Linked DNA regions of Homo sapiens: region 1 is linked to region 2. Evidence: promoter capture Hi-C in 16 types of primary human blood cells and fetal thymus (Javierre and others, 2016). All regions are on one chromosome and are shown on one strand. Each heading gives the region's core, a stretch centred on a gene start or on the middle of the fragment in contact. The rest is flanking DNA. Distances are from core to core; before and after follow the strand shown.

Region 1 (7,441 bases), core at 2,998-5,497, 470 kb after region 2:
TCTTTTCAAGGTGTTTAGATGACCATAGGAAGAAAAAGCGAGAGATAGAGGAAGTTAAAGAAGAAATGTTGGCTGCCATTGAAAACCAATCACAAATAAAGTTACAAAGTCAATTGGAAAGCAAGTGATTCTTCACAAATGCAAATCCTAGGACAGTGCCTGGCAGAGAGGAACTCCTCACTCCACCATTCTAATTCAATAATAGTCAGTTACTAAGGGCACAGCACTTTTAGGAGGAGCTCTCCCCTCTCCTACTTATGCAGAGGGGCCAAAGGATATATGACCAGGCTGTCAGCATGGGCTTCGAAGCGCTTGCATTGGGGATGCTAAAGGAAGCAGGTGCTGAGCATGAAGGAGATCAGAATCAATGAGTTACACAGGCGTGTATTCTCAACCAGAGGTGTGGCTGCACCATTAAGCCAGGGAAAGGTGGGCTGGGACACAGGACTCAAATAATCCCTCTGGCTGGACCAACGCAGAGGCCATGAAGACAGAGGAGTGGAATGTTGGGGAAAGGAGCTTTTCCATTTTTCTCTCCTTTCAGAGCCATTTTGCCTGTTTTCAAATCTAGTAACAGCATTGCTTCACCAGCGCAGTGTTGTAGATACAGCCTGTGGGTCACACCAGGATGCAATTACACTGCTGGCGGCACAGTGAGCCAAGAGGCTCTGGATGGAGCCTGGCCACCCAGCCTTCCCTCCTCAAAGTTTAGAAACTCGCCAACCCGACCCGCCTGCTGGAGGCATGGCTGCAAACCTGCAGGGTGCCACGTTTGATTTTTAAGCCTGGTGTGCTTCCTTGCCTAAATTACTTTGTGATGTATCATACTGAACCCTAAAATATTTTGTAGCCAGTTTTATTACGAAATGGATTCTATTTGGTGATTACAAAATATTCTGCTTTTAAGTAGTCTCAGTTCTTCAGCTGCTTCCACATGTGTGTTCAGCCTGTTGAAGAAGATGCGGGAGGCATTGAGCCTCCCAGAGAAAGACCCTGCAAGAGACTCCAGGGAAGAAAAACTCTCAAATTAAAGTTGTGAGCTCTGGCCCCCGCGTGCTGACAAAATCCATTGCATGCACCGCCCTCTTGTGGTCACGCAGCAGGTGACACACTTCAAAGGCAAGTTACACGGACTCTGCGCTTGGCCCCGGGGAACAGGTTCTCTGTTAGGAAAAGCGTTTCTGAACATTCCTTTATTCACATGTGCACGCACACAGCACTATAAGCAAGTGAGATCTGACATCAGGGCTATTCTCCCCTATCACAAGGAAATAACACAAATGTGGATTTTTTAAAAGCTCAGAACTGTGGGTGAAGATTCCAAAATCACAGGATGTCCAAACTGGAAAGGATCCTGACATGATCTTGATCAAATCCCCTCCATTTTTTTTTTTAAAGTGGTGGGGGGTTTGTGTGATCTTAGACAACTCACTGTATGTCCCAGAGACACATATTGACTTGCCTAAGATCACACAGCAAATCGCTGGTGTTGAGGTACAGGCCTCTGTCCCATGCCGGAAGTGGCTCTGGGACTCACCACTCCAGCTCTTCACTGGAGACGTCAGGAGACTGAGTCCAGCGAGGTCGAGAGGCCAGGGCCACGCAGGGAGCCCGAGAGCTGAGCTCTGGTGCTGGTCCCCTGGGCAGTGGGTCCCTTCTCCCATCTATGTCCTTCCCTGTTCTTGGGCAGGGACTGTCTCTTCCACCAGGACCTCTGTGCCCAGGACCGGACAAGAGGGGCTTGTGGCAAGTATGGACGGATGAAGGGGGCACCAACCAGGACTCAGGAAGAGCAGGGGCCAGAAGCAGGGCCTGGGCTAACTTATGGTTCAAATGGTAAATTTTATGTTATGTATATTTTACCACAGTGAAAAAGGAAACAGCAGTTTTAAACCCAAATTTAAAAAAAGGAAATAAAAAAAAAACTTAGGAACTTCTTTATGAGGCTACAGAGCAGCTACCACCAGCCCCATTTGACAAGAAAAATGCTATTCCCTTTTTTATTGTGGTGAAACATACATAACATAAAATTTGCCATTTTTATCATTTTAAGTGCACACTTCAGTGGCATTAAGCACATCTGCGCTGCTGTGCAACCGTCACCACTATTCAGCTCCAGAACTTTCCATCTTCCCAAATGAGACTCTGTCCCCCATGAAACACGAACTCCCTGTTTCCTCCCCCAGCCCTGGCACCCGCAATCCTACTTTCCGTCTCTATGATTTTGACCCCTTAGCTTCCTCATGTGAGTGGAATCGTGCAAGGTTCGTCTTTTTGTGGCTGGTTGTTTCACTCAGCAGAACATCCTTAGGTGCCGTCCATGTTCCCTTCCTTTCCAAGGCCGGGTGCTGTCCCACCCTACGGATAAATCACCTTTCGTTTCTCCATTCATTCATCAGTGGACACTGGGTTGCTTCCACAGTCCACGTGGTTTCACCGAAGCCTGGCAGTGGGAGCTGTCCCCTCTGGTGGACAGTGAACTCACTCTGGGGGAGGGGTCGAGTAACCATGGTCAGATGGCTCTTGCGGTGAGAGGTATGTGCCTGCTCTGAGCAAGGCACCCCGAAGGCTGAGGCCTCTCTGGAGGCTGGTAACTGTCACCCAGGCCACAGCATCTTGGGCAACCTGGATTCCTTCCTTTCCACCTGGGAAGCTTGGCTGACCTGGGGCCCAGCTCAGGCTGTAGCCAGGATCGGATGCTGTTTTAAATTTGGGATTGGATTCAGAAGGATCGGGAACCTGAAAGTCAACGTCCTTTCGGTTGATCTGAAAACACAAAACTCACTGGCTTTGCCAAAAAGGCAGTTCTCAAATTCGCAGCCAAAGAACGCATCGAACAGAAATAGCATTAGAGGGAGTGCGGGGATCCCTTCCATGTTACCGTGAAGTTCTCATACTGTTGAGCGAACGTGGGAGTCAGGGTGGAGAAAGCGTGGCCTGGCCGGCAGGGCACCGCACACTGTGCCGCTGTCTCCCCACTTCGTTTTCATTCTCTTTAAAAACCAAAACTGAAAAACCCTGCCCGTAACTACTTGCACTTATGTCCCAAACACCTCTGACTTCTCATCCGCATTCTCACTGAGGAACGTGATGCCAAGGAAGGGACTTTAAAAAATCTCTTAATTAATTATTGGTTATAATGAATGCCGAGGAGGGCACGTTTCCAAAACCCTCGTCTCCACGGTTTGCTTTCTGTTGTGTGTGCGTCCGTTGTAAACACAGCTTTCAGAATTTTCGCTGATGCTCAAGTGCTCTTTCCAGCAACAGCATTCATACACGCCAGGCCACTTCCCGCAAGTCATAATTACAACATAAAGCCAAATTAAATGTTCTAACGCTGTCGCTCCAACTCCTTCACATTTCCTTGCTCTTAGCAAACTTCCTTTTTTGAGTCCTGCAAAAGATTCGCTATTTTCCATTAAAGTAGACTCACTATTTCCTTCTAGAGTATTAAAAGTGCAAAGAGCCACAGGTAAAGCCTTCCTTTTCTCTGGTCTTACCGCATCCTTTGTCCAAACAAAGGCAGAAGTCCCCTGTCCCCCATGCAGTTGTATGTACGCAGAGAGCCCAGTCCCAGCTCCTAGGCGGTCAGACAGGCACCCCGAGTCACCACTGGCCTGCCAGCACCAGCAGCTCCAGGTCCCTGAAATCCAGCAGGCATAACCTAAGAGGTTACCTAGAGTTCAGTCAAGCTCCTCAAATAGCCACTAAGTGAAATGAGGAAAAGTTATGTAAAGTGAAGTAAAATCCTCAACAATGAAACACAAAGCTGTTATTCTCTTTTTATGAAACTCCAGTAAATTGTTTCAGAAAATGAAAGTGCCGGAAAAGAAATATTTCCATTGGGAACTAGAGATGCCCTGTGTTAAAATGGTCACACAGAAATCTGGACGACCAAGCTTTAAAGCTTTGGCTGTGTTTTAAGCTATAGCCTCGGTTCATTAGAATGGGATTTTTTTTTTTAACCAACAAACTTCTACTTTTTCTCTCTATGTGTTGTTCTGCTTAAGCCTCTGAAAACTAATTTATAAAATTGAAAATGTGTTCTTGTAGCAATTCCATACTTTCTAATAAACTTGATATAGACCCTTTTGTAGTTAATGGAATCCTTTTTTAAAATTATGTTTGAATTTTCATTTATTTGAGCTCTTAGAAAACTGTAGATTGCTAAATTGAAGTTTAAATGAATTTGTTCATTATAGCAGTTAAGAAGGCACCAAAGCCTCACCAGCAATTTCACAATTAATTAAAAATAAAAACTAATTTAAAATTATGCAGAAAAGGACACTACTTAAATCACACAGCTTTCTTTTTTTTGCTATAGCTGGGTGAGGTTTGAATATCCTAAACTCTTAAATGCAACTATTAAAATGATTAAACAGTGGGAGTAAAATATTGGCAAATGCAATATCAGCCTAGGTATAACTTCATTTTCATTATCTTGTGGTTTTTTTCTTTTAAAAATAATTTTAAATTAGTTTTTTTCCTTTTAAAAAGAAAAAACATCAAACCTGTGGCTTTATTGAAGGCTCTCTTTACACTTCATATTTTGGTGGAAATATTGCTAATTCCGAGTGTATCTTCTTGAAAAGCTTTCTGCAGAGGAAACGGGATGGTTCTAAATTCTGTCTTCTGATTTCTGACACAGCACGGTGAAATTTTTGATGAAACATCTATACCAGGCCTCCGGGCTTTCCTGAATTTGTCTAGATAAAGAAGAAGGACAAAAATCTTTTCCATCTGTAATTTTGTAAAGTTATAGAACATTTTTAAAACCTGCATTAAATTAGCAATGGAAAGAGTATTCTGTCTCCAAACATTTCTAGAATTGAGAATTTTTTTCTCTAATTCTAGTACATGCTTAACTTTACGCAACATTTTGCCCATATTTATGCATAGATATGCAAACACAATCATGGCAATGGAGAACACTTTTCTAAAAAGCATGGCCACAGTGCTACAATGAAGGTGCTTGGCCCATCAACTTGTTATATAATAAATACTTTTTAAAAAAAATCAGACTTAAAAATCCTAGTGGGCCTTGTGATAGAAAGTATATCATATAATTAGAAAACAAAATAACTGGAGTGGAAAGTTTCCTGAAACTAGCTTGATGCCGTATTCCACTTGACATTTACTGTTAAAGAAATTCAATGCACAAATTCAGCCACACCCAGACTCACCTTTGCATTTAAGTAGTCCAAGATGTTTGGAGGAGAACTGGTGTCCCAGTGTTCAGACATGGGTGAACCAGCTCTCCCTGCCCAGGCACACGAGCGTGATTCTATCCTGCAGTTTCCTGGATCTGTCATGTGGAAGCAGGCGACATCGTCTTTGATTTTATCATACGAGAGTGTTCCCACTGCATTTGTGCAGTGGCTACACCTGGCTGCTTCCACACCACACACTTCTGAAAACCCCACTGTGTTGTCTCTGTCTTGGAGGGAAAACAAGTTTGTGTGCTTTTTCTGGGTTCATTAGCAGAGCTGGTTGCCTGAGTTGGGTCCCAGCACTGCTCCTGCTGGTAAAGTTCTGCAGGTGTGTGGCTTGTCCTCTAGTTCAGCGGGAGAAACCGATTCTAAGGTTGCCGTATAATTAGCAGGGTCTCCTTTCCCTCCTTTAATCAGCTGCTAACACCTCCTGGCTGTTTAATATCACAGTCAGCCCAGTTATAAACACTAAAGGACATGCTCTTGAAATAATTAAAAAAAAAACTCTGCTCAGTAACAAACATAAAACCCGTCATTATTTAATACAGAGGAATGTTGTGTTATAACAAAATGGTGGTCTTATTCCTGATGCTTTATTCTGATTGTGGGATTTTTTTTTTTTTTTTGAGGAGGCAACTTCTCTGTATAAGGAAACATTGTATCTTTTGTTTACTTTCATCCATCTGATCTGAGACAAAATACACAACAATCTTTCACTCAAGAGCAATTAGTCCTATTCCTGTTTCAGAAAAGGGTTGAACATGTAGACTCAAAGAAGAGAGAATTCTCCCCAAAATGACTATCCATTAAGTCGTAAACATGACTTGGAGGTTAATTTCCTATAGCAAATAACCGTAATTTCCTTGAAATCTAGTTCTTTATGTAATTAAAGTTATTTATTTGAGGACTTAAATGTACTTTAACATTTTACATGCCCTTAGTATCTGTGTAAAATTCAATATTTGGAGCCTGGGGCTGCATTCCCCTGCATATATAATTGCACCGCTGCTCTAACTCACACTGATATTCTTGTGACGATAGATGAAAATGCTAATGTACCGAGGAAAGGGAACGGGAGACAATCTGCGAATACCAGGCCGAACCCCGTTTGCCCTGGACCCTTCCAGAGTCCCTCAGATGAGGGTCAAAGCCTGATTTCTAACAGCAAGGCAGAGAGAGGGTCTCAGAGCGTGTTTATTGATACAGAATGTTGGAGACGGACAGACAGGCCTTTGCCTATGATCAAGCGACTTTCTGTGCAAATCTTATGGAATGCGGCATTCCAGACTTTAAAGGGAAAGGGAGATCACCATGGCAACGGCACATGGGGGCTGGAGATGGGGGGGTTCCCTTGGGAGCTAAAAAGCCAGCAGAATTTTAAGCATTTGCAACTTAAAAAAGAAGAAGATGAAAACCGCACAACTCTGCCAAACACATCTACAGACATGGAATACGGTTAGAGGGTTCTTCAGAAAGATCCAAATAAACACAGCTCAGAGCCTGCACAATACGAGCTGGGAAAAAAATCGGCTAAAAAGTCCCCTGCAGGACCCGGTCTTCTCCATTGAAGAGGGAGACACTGTTGCCGCCAAAGGGCCAACAAGGGGGAGCGTTTGAGGAGGCCGGTGGCTGCCTAGCAAGGGTCCTGGGCCAGGGATTTCCCTGCCTGTCTGCTCTTGAAGCCCTGGGCCCTGGTCTCTCCCAGCTGGAAAACACGGTTTTGTAGATGTAGGACCCAGGCGCAGTGGGGCTGGCTCATCTCAGCCGCTCAGAACCACACAGACTCCAGCCCACCCGCAGTTGGCTCATGGCTTCCAACACCGCAGCAAGGCTGTGTGTAGAAACAGCTTAGTTATCACAGACATCTCTTAGAATTGCAGATAATAAGCCGAAGAGAACCAAGTGTAAAAGTGACTGTAAGCGAATGCAGTTTGTGGTTATAGTATCCGTAAGAGAAAAAAAAAGGACAGATTTATAAATGGGGCCAATTCAAACACTCTAGAAACTGCCTCCCCTGCCAGCTCTTTTATTTAAGAAAAAAAGGAGAGTGCTGAAAACGTGGGGCCAGCCCGTGCCCAGCTGGTCAAAGGCATCGGAGCGCCTGTGTCCCTGAAGGAGCTGGGCTTCAGCCCTGGCCTCTGCAGGGGTCTGAGGTGATGCCGGGGTAGGGGGGCAGGGTGGGGGACATCAATCAACACAAAATGCGGCAAATGCTTCCCTGGAAATGGCAA
Region 2 (6,952 bases), core at 1,577-4,076:
GACAGAGTCTCACTCTGTCACCCAAGCTGGAGTTCAGTAACACGATCTCAGCTCACTGCAACCTCCGCCTCCCAGATTCAAACATTTCTTGTGCCTCAGCCTCCTGAGTAGCTGGAATTACAGATGCACCCCACCACGACTGGCTAATTTTTGTATTTTTAGTAGAGACAGGGTTTCACCACATTGGCCAGGCTGGTGCTGAATCCCTGACCTCAAGTGATCTGCCCACCTTAGCCTCCTGAAGTGCTGGGATTACAGGTGTGAGCCACCATGCCTGGCCAGCAGCATTATTCATAAAAAATAAAAAACTGAAAGCAACCCAAATGTCCATCAACTGATGAATAAACAAATTACACTATGAAATACCATTCAGCCACAAAAAGGAATGGCATATTAATATACGTGTAACAATATGAATGAATCTCAAAAATATAAGAGAAATAATGAAATACAAAAGACTGTGTACTGCATGATTCCATTTATATGAAACTCTAGAAGAGGCAAAATTATAATGACAGAAACCAGATTAGTGGCTGCCTGGGGCTGGGGTGGGGAAGGAGATGGGCTGCAAATAAGCAGCAAGAAATGTTTTAGGGTGCAGGGACTGTTCTGTATTCTGATTGTGGTGGTGGTAACATAATTGTATATAATTACCAAAATGTATCAACCTGCACACTTAAAATGTGTGAATTTTATTGTATGTAAATAATAAAATATAAATTTTAAGTAGAAGAGACCCCCACATCTAGATATACCATGTGCAAACTTCTGGCAAACCAATAATAAAAATAAAATCTTGAAGGCAGCCAGAAACAATAGACAGAAGAACAAAGAATTACGGAAGACTTTTATTCAGAAACTACGCAAGCCAGAAGTCAATGGAGTAACATCCTTAAAGTACTGAAAAACAAAAACAGTCAGTCTAGAATGCTACACTTTTCTTTTTGTTTGTTTTTGTTTTTTAAAGACAGAGTCTTGCTCTGTTGCCCAGGCAGGAGTGCAGTGGTGCCATCTTGGCTCACTGCAAGCTCCAACCCCCGGGTTCAAGCGATTCTTGTGCCTCAGCCTTCCAAGTAGCTGGGGTTACAGGCACACACCACTACGCCCAGCTAATTTTTATATTTTTAGTAGAGACAGGCTTTCACCATTTTGGCCAGGCTGGTCTCAAACTCCTGACCTTAAGTGATCTGCCTGCCTCAGGCTCCCAAAGTGCTGGGATTACAGGCGTGAGCCACTGTACCCCTAGAATTCTTTTTTTTTTTTTTTGAGACGGAGTCTCACTCTGTCACCCAGGCTGGATTGCAGTGGCATGACCTCGGCTCACTGCAAGCTCTGTCTCCTGGGTTCAGGTGATTCTCTTGCCTCAGCCTTCCTGGTAGCTGGGATTACAGGCGCCCGCCTCTGCACCCAGCTAATATTTTGTATTTTAAGTAGAGACGGGGTTTCACCATGTTGGTCAGGCTGGTCTCGAACTCCTGACCTCCCAACTCTAGAATTCTATACTTCTATGCTTAATAAATATTTGTGGCTGAATTTACTGGAGGTGGTTATAGGGGGACATGGAAGGAAAACTATAAAAATGCAATTTAGTATTTGTTGATAAACCATACAGCCTGACTGGCATTGAAATTGGTTGTCTGTATAACTTTTCCATTACCAACTGAACTGTGCTAGAAGAAATATTAAAGGAAGTTCTTCAGACAGGAGGGGTATGACACCAGATGGCGATTTAGATCTCCACAAAAAATGAGGAGGCCTGAAAATGGTAAAAATGAAGGTCAATTTAAAAGTTATAATGGGGGCGGTCGCGCACACCTGTAATACCAGCACTTTGGGAGGCCGATGCGGACGGATTGCCTGAAGTCAGGAGTTCCAGACCTGCCTGGCCAACATGGTGAAACCCCGTCTCTACTAATAATGCAAAAGCGAGGCTGGTGTGGTGTCGGGAGCCTGAAGTCGCAGCTACTCATGAGGCTGAGGCAGGAGAATCACTTGAACCTGGGAGGTGGAGGTTGCAGTGAGCCAAGATCGTGCCACTGCACTCCAGCCTGGGCGACAGAGTCAGACTTCGTCTCAAAAAAAAAAAAAGGTTATAATGGTGTTCTCATTAGAAGAACTACAGACCCCAGAGCTCTCAAATCGCCGGAAGGATTTCTGCGGTAGGCCTGTGCATGATGGACAGAGGACAGGTGGTAAAGAATCACGGACACCTAGTAGGACAACTAGGCATGGCTTTGTCCCGGTTTCAGAGCACCGACACAGCATTTAGTCACCATTTACCTTCTTGGGAGGTGGGTTAGGCAGCGGGCACACTAGTCCTGCTTTGTGGGAGCAGAAGTGAAGTCTCAGAGAAAACAGGTGACTTGCCCAAGAAGCCTTATTAATTACCAGCCAGGACAGCGTATTTTCTATTCCGTGTGTTTTGGGATAACTTAGTGCCGTCCCCTCCGATGAACCAGTGCCTTCGAAAGCCCTTGAGATTTGGGAAACAGGCGGCACAGATCTTGGAGGTTACCTTGTTCTTAATCAGTCCTCAGGCAGTCGCCTCTAACGCGAGCGAACACCGGCTTCCCGAGGCCGTCGCTCGGCAGAGGAGGGGCCAGGCGCCCGATCCCAGATCCCCTTTCCCCGCCCCGCCGCGCCCCGCCTGCTCTGGCACAGCCGCACTCCCGCAAATCCCTCCCGCGGAACCCCCACTCCTGCCTGCGCGGGCGCTGGAAGGCGGGCAGGGGGCGGGGCGCCGCGGCGCGTCCGTTGCTAAGGCCGCGCAGCCCTAGTGACCGAACGCCCTGCGGCGGCCGCGCAGGCGCTGTGGTGGGCTCCGGTGCACTGTGGGATGGAAACCGGAGCGGCGCGTCCTGGCAGGACCGGGCGGCGGCGGCGGCGGGGCCGGCGGCGGCCAGGGACCCGGGCTTAGGCTCGGCCAGGCCGGCTGAGGGGCGCGGGCGGCCAGCGGGCGGCGGACGCCGTCATGAACGCGGCGGTGGTGAGGCGGACGCAGGAGGCGCTGGGGAAAGTGATTCGGAGGCCGCCGCTGACCGAGAAGCTGCTGAGCAAGCCCCCGTTCCGCTACCTGCACGACATCATCACGGAGGTGGGCGCCGGGGACCGGGCCCGGCCAGGTGCGGGTCGGGATTCCGGTGGGCGCCGAGGTCAGGGCCCGGGCCGGGTGGCGCCGGGTGCGAGCCGGGCTCGGGCTCAGGTGCGGGTCGGGGGCCGGGGCTGGGCCGGAGTCGGGGCCCGGGCCGGGTGTGAACCGGGTGTGGGCCGGGCTCGGGGTGCAGGTCGGGGACCTGTTCAGGGCCGGGTGTGGGCCGGGCACAGGGTGCGGGTCGGGGGCCGGGGTCAGTTCCGGGGTCGGGGCGAGAGTTCTGTGCGGCCCCTGCCTGGGAGCCCGGCCTGTAGGCCCAATTCCGCGGCGCCCTCCGTGAGGAGGTCCTGCCCCTCCCCCGGCTCCGGGCCGCCGCTTACAAGGAGGCTCCGGGCCCTCAGGAGCATTCTTACTTCTTCCCTGCCTGCCCTTGTATTTCCTTAGAGTGCATCTTCCATTATTGCTGGCAGAGCTGCTTCTGTGACTCCTGCCTCGTCTAACCTTGCAGAACCCCTCTCGCTTGCCCTGAAGTATGTAGCACGTGGAAGGCACTCCCTAAATCCTGGGAGAATGGAAATAATATTTTTTATACAACCCTTCTGCCCCAAAGTTTCCCTCCATACCACATTTTGGGTGCTTAATAAATGCCTGCGGGTGGATTTAGTGGAGGCGGCTGTAGGGGGACTTGGCAGGAAAGACTGTAACAGAGCTGCACAGCCTGCCCTACGTTGAGATTGGTGGTCTCTGTAGCTTTTTCCACTTGCGGATGGTGTGCTCCTCCGTGACGGAGACCCTGGCTTGCTTATTAGCATGGCTCTGGTGATCTGCACTGGGTAAGGTACATAGAAATTGCACAACAAACATCCCCTGTTGAGTGGGACCTGTCAAGGCTCGTGGTAACTCCCTGGTAACTCTCAGGAGCGTCACTGCAGCGGGCGCAGCACCCATTTCCATGGTGGACCCAAGGGCACGTGGGAACTCAGAGGTGTGTTTTGGGATTTAGGATTCAGGTTGGACTTGCAGACTTCCAGGGCCTCATGACCTCACCTGGTGATGGTCCTCAAGCTCTGTTTCTCACTCTTTTCAACAGGTTGGGTGCCTTATTCTTGCACAGACTTTGCTTTACTGGTTCTGCCCTCCTACCTTAGCTTATAACGTGTGGTCTCCTGGAGCGTGTGCCTCTGTGTTAAAACAGTGCCTAAAAATGCTCTCGAATCCACCCACATCCCAGGGCCTCGCCAGCCCTGGTCATGTCCTCCCAGCTGGTGCAGCACTTACAGCCTGTCCTGGACAGTGTGTGGGGAGAGGACCTGCTGTGTGGATAGCCCGGTGGGAGGGGGACAATGTGCCGCATCACCACCGTCCCGTGAAGTAGGCGGGTACCCGTCCTCTGACCCAGAGGGAACAAGAGCCAGTGTGAGCCCAGCCCACTCTAGCTGTGGCTGCCAAAACCTTTATTCTCCCAGGCCTGTCTGTCCCACTGAAATGCAGAGCCCCAGGAGGGAGGTGCAGGGAGTGTGCCTTATCCTTGTGGGGCAGTGATGGCGCTCAGCTCACGGTGGCTGTCCAGTCACTACCGCATAGTTGGTCAGAGGAATCCTAATGGGAGAGGAGGAGGAACATGGGCTGGGTGCTGTGGCTCACGCCTGTAATCCCAGCACTCTGGGAGGCCAAGGCGGGCAGATCACTTGAGCCCAGATGTTCAAGACCAGCCTGGCCAACATGGTTAAAACTCCATCTCTACTGAAAATACAAAAATTAGCTGAGTGTGGTGGTGCACCTGTAATCCCAGCTACTCAGGAGGCTGAGTAGGGAAGATTGCTTGAGCCGGGAAGGTTGAGGATGCAGTGAGCTGTGATTGTAACACTGCACTCTAGCCTGGGTGACAGAGTAAGACCCTGTCTCAAAAAAAAAAAAAAAAAAAAAAAAAAAGAATTGCCTTCTTGGCCAGGTAGATAGGGTGTGTGGAACGAGTTGCATGTTCCCAATTAGGAACGACTGGTCTGCTCTTCTCCCATAGACTTCCTCATCTAATGCCAAAGTTGATTTCTCTCCCTGTGTAAAGATAAATAAATTATGACCTACTTGATAAAGTTGTTAGAATGACTGACATATTGGAAAGGATTTTCAGATAATAGGTGGAGAGCCTCTTATGAAAATGCTTTACTGTACTGAATATTATACACACATTGCTATATTAGTATTTTAGCTATAGCTACACTAACCACCCCGTTTCATTAAGCTAAGTGTGGATACTGTGACGTTAATGTCTCTTGTCACTTACAGTTATTGTTCACAATTTTTTTTTTTTTTTTAGAGGGATTCTTGCTCTGTCGCCCAGGCTGGAGTGCAGTGACACAGTCTCCACTCACTGCAACTTACGCCTCCCAGGTTCAAGCAATTCTCCTGTTTCAGCCTTCTGAGTAGCTGGGACTGCAGGCACATGCCACCATGTCCAGCTAATTTTTCTATTTTTAGTAGAGATGGGGTTTCGCCATGTTGTCCGGCCTGATCTCGAACTCCTGACCTCAGGTGATCCGCCTGCCTCGGCCTCCCAAAGTGCCGAGATTACAGGTGTGAGCTACTGTACCCAGCCTATTGCTCACAATTTTAACTGCCAGCATCCTGGGAAAACCTCAACAGGGACAAAATGAAAATGTTCCAGGAATGTTAAATGCAGGATGCTCTTAATATTCTACCTGTCATCTCAAGAAAAACAGTAGCATAGCTCTTACATAGTGTGGTGTGGAATGAAAACTCCTAGATTCATTAATACCTAACTTGATGCAAATTAAGGAGTTGTGGCTTGATTCCAGAGGAGGCTCTCATTAGGGTGGGACTGTCTTGTTTTTAAAACATGTCTTCCCGTAATAAATATGCTTTATTAGCTGACCTAGGATATGTGGCTATGAGCATACCTGTCCTTACCACATACCATGCAGCCTGCTGGTAAGGGTCCCAGCTATTCAAAATGCTTGTTGCTACAAATTGTATTGATTTTACAGTAACCTACCACATTTCAAAAAACTGCAGTCTGAGACAACCCAGGACCCTGGCTGGGTGTGGTGGTTGAGAGGAACAGGAAAAATAATTGCCCTAAAAGCTGGTTTTAGGGCTAATTAGGAGGTACAGGTTACCTGAGGGAAGGGATGATTAGGGAGAGAACCAAAGCAGTGAGGTGTGGAGCCTGCCACCATCTTAAGAAGTGAGTAGTGACACGTGGTGAGGAGAAAGACCCTTGCAGAACTTCTAGTCTTAGCAAACTAGGTTGAGAAATTCCTTTTCTTTTCTTTCTTTTTTTTTGAGGCAGAGTCTCACTGCGTTGCCCAGGCTGGAGTCCTGTGGCATGATTCTGACTCACTCCAACCTCCACCTCCCGGGTTCAAACAATTCTGTTGCCTCAGCCTCCTGAGTAGCTGGGATTACAGACGCCCACCACCATGCCTGGCTAATTTTTGTATTTTTAGTAGAGACGGGGTTTCACCTTGTTGGCCAGGCTGGTCTTGAACTGCTGACCTCAAGTGATCCACCCACCTCGGCCTCCCAAAGTGCTGGGATTACAGGTGTAAGCCACTGTGCCCAGCCAAAGTTCCTTTTCTTTTTGGAATCTGTTCCCTCCATTGCACCTGAAGGACTCTTGTAAAATGCCGTTCCAGGTCCTCCTCGTGGTCCTTCAGCTCAGTTCATGTCCCTGAGTGGCTTCACAGGGCCTCTGCACCAGGCCCCGAGTGTCTCTCTGGCCTCAGGCTCCTGCTGTCCTACATTTCTTTTGATCCCTTGCAGGGGACTCTGTGGGTCCTGGACCTTGTGTGGACTTTCATTTTCTTTTTTTCTTTTTTTTGAGACGGAGTCTGGCTCTGT

What was found. The method cuts DNA at HindIII sites, captures the fragments that hold promoters and counts their contacts. A CHiCAGO score of 5 or more calls a contact.
Region 1: a contact is called between a fragment that was not itself captured here and the fragment with the promoter of TRAF3IP1 in region 2, in 1 of 17 cell types (M0 macrophages). The highest score is 5.1, in M0 macrophages.

Annotation. Positions count from the first base shown.
Region 1 is chr2:238,784,096-238,791,536 of GRCh38, forward strand. No RefSeq gene overlaps it. Among named protein-coding and RNA genes, the nearest start is that of TWIST2, 60 kb to the right of the region's middle. The HindIII fragment of the contact is 685 bases long and covers 3,906-4,590 here.
Region 2 is chr2:238,317,692-238,324,643 of GRCh38, forward strand. It overlaps TRAF3IP1 (TRAF3 interacting protein 1), which reads left to right and starts at 2,827. Exons shown (of 17, transcript NM_015650.4): 1 at 2,827-3,094. The coding sequence starts at 2,972. RefSeq lists silencers at 2,481-2,960, 3,091-3,320. The HindIII fragment of the contact is 10,073 bases long and covers 1-6,952 here.